2 separate regions of the Homo sapiens genome follow, and region 1 is linked to region 2. Evidence: promoter capture Hi-C in human tissues and cell types (Jung and others, 2019). All regions are on one chromosome and are shown on one strand. Each heading gives the region's core, a stretch centred on a gene start or on the middle of the fragment in contact. The rest is flanking DNA. Distances are from core to core; before and after follow the strand shown. Region 1 overlaps PATJ (PATJ crumbs cell polarity complex component). Region 2 holds the start of KANK4 (KN motif and ankyrin repeat domains 4).

Region 1 (3,447 bases), core at 564-3,063, 180 kb after region 2:
GCCCGCCTTGGCCTCCCAAAGTGCTGAGTTACAGGCATGAGCCACTGCACCTGGCCTTTTCTTTATTTTTTGAGACAGGGACTTGCTCTGTCACCCAGGCTGGAGTGCAGTGGTATGATCTCAGCTCACTGCAGCCTTGACCTCCTGGGCTCAAGAGATCCCCTCACCTCATCCTCCAAGTAGCTGGGACTACCGGCATGCACCACCATGCCCAGCTAACTTTTTATTTTTTGTAGCGACAGTGTCTCACTGTGTTGCTCAGGCTGGTCTTAAACTCCTGGGCTCAAGTAATCCTCCCACCTTGGCTCCAAAAGTAAGGAGGATTACAGGCGTGAGCCACCTTACCTGGCCTGTTTCCTTCTTACCACCATCACTATCTAATGAACTGCATACATCTTACCTTGTTTATCTTATTTATTGTCTATCACTTCATATTAGAATGTAAGGGCAGGAAGTTTGTCTGCTTTGTTCACTCCTGTATTCCCCATCACATAGAAGAGTGCCTAGCACATAGCAGGTGCTCAGTAAATAACTGGTGAATGAAAGAATGGATGAATATCTCTGACTCCCTGAGATTTGCCTCTTAGATAGTCCTAAACAAAGGTATAGTAGAATAGGCTGTGCACGGTGGCTCGCACCTGTAATCCTAGCACTTTTGGAAGCCGAGGTGGGCGGATCACTTGAGCTCAGGAGTTCAAGACCAGCCTGGGTAACATGGCAAAACTCTGTCTCTACTAAAAGTACAAAAGAAATTAGCCGGTGTGGTGGCACAGGCCTGGAGTCCCAGCTACTTGGGAGGCAGAGGTTGCAATAAGCAGAGATCGTATCACTGCACTCCAGAGTAAAACTGTCTCAAAAATAAAATAAGATAAAAATAAACCCACAAACAAAAACAAAGGTATAGTAGAATAATGGCACTTTGTATTCTGCTAATTATATATATATATATATATTTTTTTTTTTTGCAAATAACATTCTAGAGCATTTAGAAGAAATATAGTATAGCTCTGGGAGTCCACAACAGGACTCAGGATGGAGTTCCAGAGTTCAGTTTCAGCCTCTTATCAATGCCATATGTGAGTTTCAGCTTCCTCATCTATTAAATGGGAATCATAAAAGTCTGTTTTGCCTCCTTATCCTGGAGTTGTCTTCCACCTCAACTAGTTACCAGAGATACTTTCTCAAGAGCTCCTTGGTTACCTCTGCTTCTGGGTTATAATTCTCACTGCACAAATACAGAGGGAACTTTGTCTGCCAGCAATGCAAAGCTCGACTTGATTGCAATTTCAGAAAAGGCCAACAGAGGGCACAGCTGCCTAAAATGCTAAATTAAGCTTCATCTGTTAAGTAGAGCAGAAAAAGAAAGAAAATAGGCCTGCCCCAGAACACATTTTGGGTGAAGCATCCTATTCTGGGGAAAACACTGCTATGTCCAAGTTACAGAATCTTCTGGAAGTACCACTGTATGAAGAATGAGAACACATTTTGGGTGAAGCATCCTATTCTGGGGAAAACACTGCTATGTCCAAGTTATAGAATCTTCTGGAAATACCACTGCATGAAGAATGACGGAATGAATTGGGAAATATTTAGGACGAAAGATTAAAGGAGGAAACGATAGATTTCTCCCTGCCCCGAAAAGTCTCTCCTCTTAGCACCAGCTTTCTGCTCTCTTCCACAGCAAGTGTACTGGAAGGTTAACTTGTCCATGAACTCTTTTATCCTCCCTACTCTTGAAGTCCACCATCTTTATAAACCTACCCCACTCCAGCTTCCATCCCCATCTCCCACCCAAACTTCCATGACCCACACTCTTCTGGCTTTCCTTCTGCAGGGGCCTGTTTCTCCATCTCTTTGCTCTTCTTCCATTCATCTCTCATGGTGCAGTCCTGGGCCCATTATCCACTTGCACACTCAGGCTCAAGTGACAGCATGTACATTCCCACAGCTTTACATTCCAACGTGCTCACAATCCCAGCTTAGGCCAGCGTGGTGGCTCACGCCTGTAATCCCAGCACTTTGGGAGGCAGAGTGGGCTGGATCACCTGAGGTAAAGAGTTCAAGACCAGCCTGGCCAACATGGTGAAATCTGGTCTCTACTAAATATACAAAAATTAGCTGGCGTGGTGGTGGGCATCTGTAATCCCAGCTACTTGGGAGGCTGAGGCAGGAGAATCGCTTGAACCCAGGAGGCAGAGGTTGCAGTGAGCCGAGATCAAGCCATGGCACTTCAGCCTGGGTGACAGAGGGAGACGCTGTCTCAAAAAAAAAAAAAAAAAAAAAAAAAAAAAATTCCCAGCTTAGTCTGTGATATCCAATTGCCAACTTGACATCTGCATTTTAATATCTCAAAGATGTATCAAAATTAACACAATATTCAAACTTTTGATCTAACAATTCATCTCCTTCAATTCACTTTTCTTCTAGTTTTCCTCATTTTAGTAAATGGCACCTCCAGATGCCAAGTTAGAAATATACTGGGTGAAATAGTGAAAATACTGGTGTGCTGGCTGGTGCCTGTCTAACTGGAAAGGATGCTAGGATGCCAGCCATATAGCTGATCGCTCTCTGAATATCTGATCCCTCCACTCCTGCTTGCTGTACGTAATCCATCAAGTCCCCTGGATTCTACCTCCAAAATCCTTCTCAAAACTTTACTTTCCATCTACAGGTGACCATCCTAATTCAGTTCATCATCAAGTGCCTGTTAGCTGGAATCCCCATTCACCTTTGTCTCACCTCATTCCCACACGTTAGCCAGTTACCTTTTCAAATATAAAACGGGTATCCGCACTCCCCTGCTTAAAACCTTGTAGTGTTTTCCCTTTGGACTTGGAATAAAATTCAGACTTTAATTATGCATATAAAGTTCCCTCCATAGCCTACTCCTCTAATCCTGTCTCTCTCTCGACTCCACCCCACATTCCAGTTCCCTCTCCAGGCGGGGAATTCCCCCCATCCCCCAAACCAGCGTGCCTGGCATCAGCTTAAATGTCACTTCCCTTCTACAAGCCTGCTTTGACCATCCGTGTTTAATTTCTCCTGTTTTCCTCTCCATAGCACTCTCCAAGTATTTCTCACAAATTATGGTGATTAGCATCTATGTGCATGTTGACTGTATTTCCCACCCAATCACAGGATCCATGAGGATCAGGACTGCTTCTCCTCAGCACAATGCTAATGTGTCTAGCACATAACAATTGCTTAATAATTGTGGAGTGAATGAGCGAATCTAAAACTGTCATAAGGAATAGGGATTATGGGACTCAATTTTCTGTGGTTGCTTTTTGGGACTCAATTTTCTGAATTTCCACAGAGCAGGGTGAGACTGATGGAGGTTACAAGGAGATAGGTGTTGGGTTCTTAAAGGAGAAAAAAAAAAAGTAACAAGGCAGTTATGGAATGGAATGGCACAGTTTGCTAGGACATGAGCACCTCAGTGGAGCA
Region 2 (3,492 bases), core at 186-2,685:
CCACAGTGCTGGGATTACTGGCGTGAGCCACCGTGTCCGGCTGATGGCTTCTTTTTCAAAATGGGAGGATCTGGCCACATGAATCCCTTTCCCTAGATGACAAAATAGACTGAGCTGAGTAGCAGCAGCCCCTTCCCTTGGGCAAGAACCTGGAGCTGCTATCAAGCTCACCACAGTCCCCACCACTCCCTACTATGTCCCAACACTGGGACCAAGTCTCTGCTGCCATTTATTATTGCTCTGGGATATTGATTTGCTCCAGTGGAGCTCTAGTGGAAGTGAAATCGTTCAAATAACCATATTTCTATAAAAACGTAAAATGAAAGTCCTAGAAAGTACTCCCCCATCTGGGTCACAATGTCAAAAACGAAACCCCTTTGCCTAAGTGTTAGCCCTTGCCAATGGGCCCATGAAGGATGCCCATTGTGGGGGTCAGAGCTGGCATCCGGAGTCTTACGGGGTCCACGGCCCTCTACTTGCCTATCTCTGTTGTCTTCATCTGTAAAGGAGGAGTAGCAGCAGCTCCTTTTTCCTAGGGTTAGGGTGCACAACGCCCACCAGGCACTTAGTGAACTGTTCATTCAAGGTTAGCGGTTGAAACGCAAACATTTTGAACTGATAAAAAACTCTGGTGGGCCGGGCGCCGTGGCTCATGCATGTAATCCCAGCACTTTGGGAGGCCGAGGTGGGCGGATCACCTGACGTTCGAGACCCGCCTGGCCAACATGGTGAAACCCCGTCTCTACTAAAAATACAAAAGTTAGCTGGGCGTGGTGGTGTGCGCCTGTAGTCCCAGCTACTCGGGAGGCTGAGGCAGGAGAATCGCTTGAACCAGGGAGGCGGAAGTTCCAGTGAGTCGGGATCGCGCCACTGCTCTCCAGCTTGGCCATAGAGCGAGATTCCGTCTCAAACAGCAACAACAACAACAAACCTTTGGTGGGAGGTCGGAGTGTGAAATGAAAGACTTAGGGTTCCTGAGTGGGACTACAGCAAGGATTGGGAAGAAAAAAAGGAGATGGAAAAAGACGATTTAGGAGAGGTAAAAGTTCTGTTACTAGGACCCCAGCCCTCACTGGCCCACATCCGCTGGCGAGGACCTAACTTACTGCACCCAGCTTCCCAGTGGCCAGACCTAGGTTCCAGTCCTGGCTGGGGCAAGTCATTACCTTGTCTGGTGCTGTTTCTGCACCTATCAAATGAGGATGGAAATGTCTAGATGAACCGAGATAAACGCATACGAAAGCACTTTGGGAATCTGAAAAGCGCTATGAACAGGTTAGGAGTTTTTGGTCTCTTTTCAAAAAGTTTTTCTTCTAAGCTCATGTTTATCAAGGGCTTTTGAGTTTATCGAGGCTAAGACCCTCCCCTCGGTTTCGCAATTCTGCCCCTTCCTACACACCAAAGTCCGCGCCGCGTCAGGAGTCTTTTTTTTCTCCCCTAGCGAAGGCGGGGACTCGGGCGCTGTTGGCAGCTGGCGACGCGGGGCGAAGCCGCGGCTGGCGGCGCCTGGCCAGTCCCGCATCCGCCGCGGTGGGTGTGCCCGCAGGGGTGCGCCGGGGCCAGGGCCGAGACCGTCGGCCAGAGGGCGCCTGGAGGGTGTGCGCGCCGCGGACGACCAGGGTGCGCCAGCCCCGGGGTGCGCGCCTGGGACGCGGACAGTGCACCCGGAGGTTGCGTGCGCTCCGAAGCCGGGGTGTGCGCCTAGCTGCCCCGGCCCCGTGCACCGCGGGCCGCCTCGCGCAGGACTTCCGCAGCTCGCCAAGGTAAGGGACTCTGCGACCCCAGTCCCCCGCAGTGCGTCTGCTGGGGTGTTCAACACCCGCCCTGCGCGACCCGAGTGTTGGCCCCGGCGCTCGACCACTCTCCTCTTGCCTCTGCCACCCGCCTCGCCCAGTCCCCAGCGCCGCGTCCCCGGCTCCCTTTAAAGCAGTGGCTGCGGCAGCTTGGGCCGACCTGGCGCCCCCGCCTCCCAGCCTGGGGTCTGCGACAGAAAAGGAGCGGGGCTGCTCGGGCTGCCCAAAGGTGGGCGCCGCTCCCTTTCCAGCCCAGATTGGCTCTCCGCGCCCCAATTCTGGGGGTGGAGAACACTGGTGAGGAGGGGGAGGCCGTGCTGTCCTTGCGACTCAGGTGGTGCAGCCCCCGCCCAGCTTTTCCGAGCTAGGCGCTGCGGTCTGGGATGCAGCCTGCGGGACTGGGCGTTCTTTGCCGCGGGCTCCCACTGCTACCTGGAATCGAGCTCTTAGTCTCTCTCCTGTCGCAAAAGTCTCCCCGTAGTGCCAACCCTGGCACTCCTCGGCCCCTGGCTGAACTTTCCAGGGCTCCCTTTGGGCCGCGACCTTGGGCGGAGGCAATGGGGCAGCTCCGAGTGCTCTAGACGCCGCCGAGGGCGCTTTGCCCAGCCCGCATGCCTCCTGTGGGCTCCTTTCCCTTCTGCCTCTCCGGTAAGGTCAAATCTGTGACTGGGTACTTTGACCCCGCAGACTGGCCAGAAATGGGAGTTGGAAAGTCGAGCCCATGGCCGCTACGCTGGGTCTGAACCTAACTCTTGCCCTGGGCATCCTTCGGGGCTGCCAAACTCAAGTCTTAGTTCCTAAGCGCCCTGGAGTGCAAGCCTTTAGGGCAAAGAGGGAGTATTTTCCAGGAGAGGGAGGAGGACCCCCTGAGGCCTGGGCAAAGTCCTATCTACCAAATAGGGCCAGAGGAGGATCAGATGCAGCCAGTGACCCGGCTGAGGCATGGGGAGAAAGCATCTTGAGTTAAACACGATTCCCAAGGACCTGCTTGGGTAAATCAAGCCCAGGTTGCTTAGAGCCTCTCAAAATGTGACACAGGAAAGCTACACTGGGAATGGAGGCAGAGTCCGTTCTAATACTGCCTTTTCAAGCCCAGCCTTCCCACTTCACTGGACCATAATGTGACCTGGGGAAAGTGAGTTTTGGGGAATGGCTCGGGGATCAGACCAGACTGATTCAATCAACAAATGCTCTGTGCCAGGCACTGGTCAACGTAGTGAGGTACAGAAGTGAACAAAACTGGCACCTTCTGGCCTCATGGAGCTTGCATTCCAGTGGCCAACACCAACAGGAATTAAATCACTCACATAAATAGAGAATTCTCCAGTGCTGAGTTCTTTGAAAGGACTAGATACCCTGAAAACCTGATAGGTCCAGTAGTCGGTCAGTCTGCAGAATGACAGGAGAGAGTGGAATGAGCCTTCTAGGCAGAAGTAGCCGCGTGTGAGAGGGCCTAAGGTGAGTAGCAGAGTGGGTTAGAGGAACTGAAAGCCTCTGTTGGCTGAGTTACTACCAGGGGCCCAAATGGGCAGTCCTTTAGTTGTGCATCCCATTGACTGGTCCAGTCAGTGCCTTCCTTTCTGAACTGTAATAATGAGCAGTTGGAAGTCCCCTGGCTAGATCATAGTGTGGGGAGAAGGAGAGAGATAGACCAATAGCACCTTGCTGGACTCACTGCCCCATGTGTGCACCTTGGTCA

The links. The method cuts DNA at HindIII sites, captures the fragments that hold promoters and counts their contacts. A contact is called where the count stands out against the background at its distance.
Region 1: a contact is called between a fragment that was not itself captured here and the fragment with the promoter of KANK4 in region 2, in 1 of the 25 tissues and cell types used here (H1 embryonic stem cells).

The regions. Positions count from the first base shown.
Region 1 is chr1:62,142,284-62,145,730 of GRCh38, reverse strand. All of the region lies in intron 41 of PATJ (PATJ crumbs cell polarity complex component), which reads right to left. Among named protein-coding and RNA genes, the nearest start is that of L1TD1, 51 kb to the left of the region's middle. The HindIII fragment of the contact is 6,313 bases long and covers 1-3,447 here.
Region 2 is chr1:62,317,377-62,320,868 of GRCh38, reverse strand. KANK4 (KN motif and ankyrin repeat domains 4) reads left to right here and starts at 1,435. Exons shown (of 10, transcript NM_181712.5): 1 at 1,435-1,763. RefSeq lists enhancers at 1,395-2,117, 2,118-2,842. The HindIII fragment of the contact is 19,099 bases long and covers 1-3,492 here.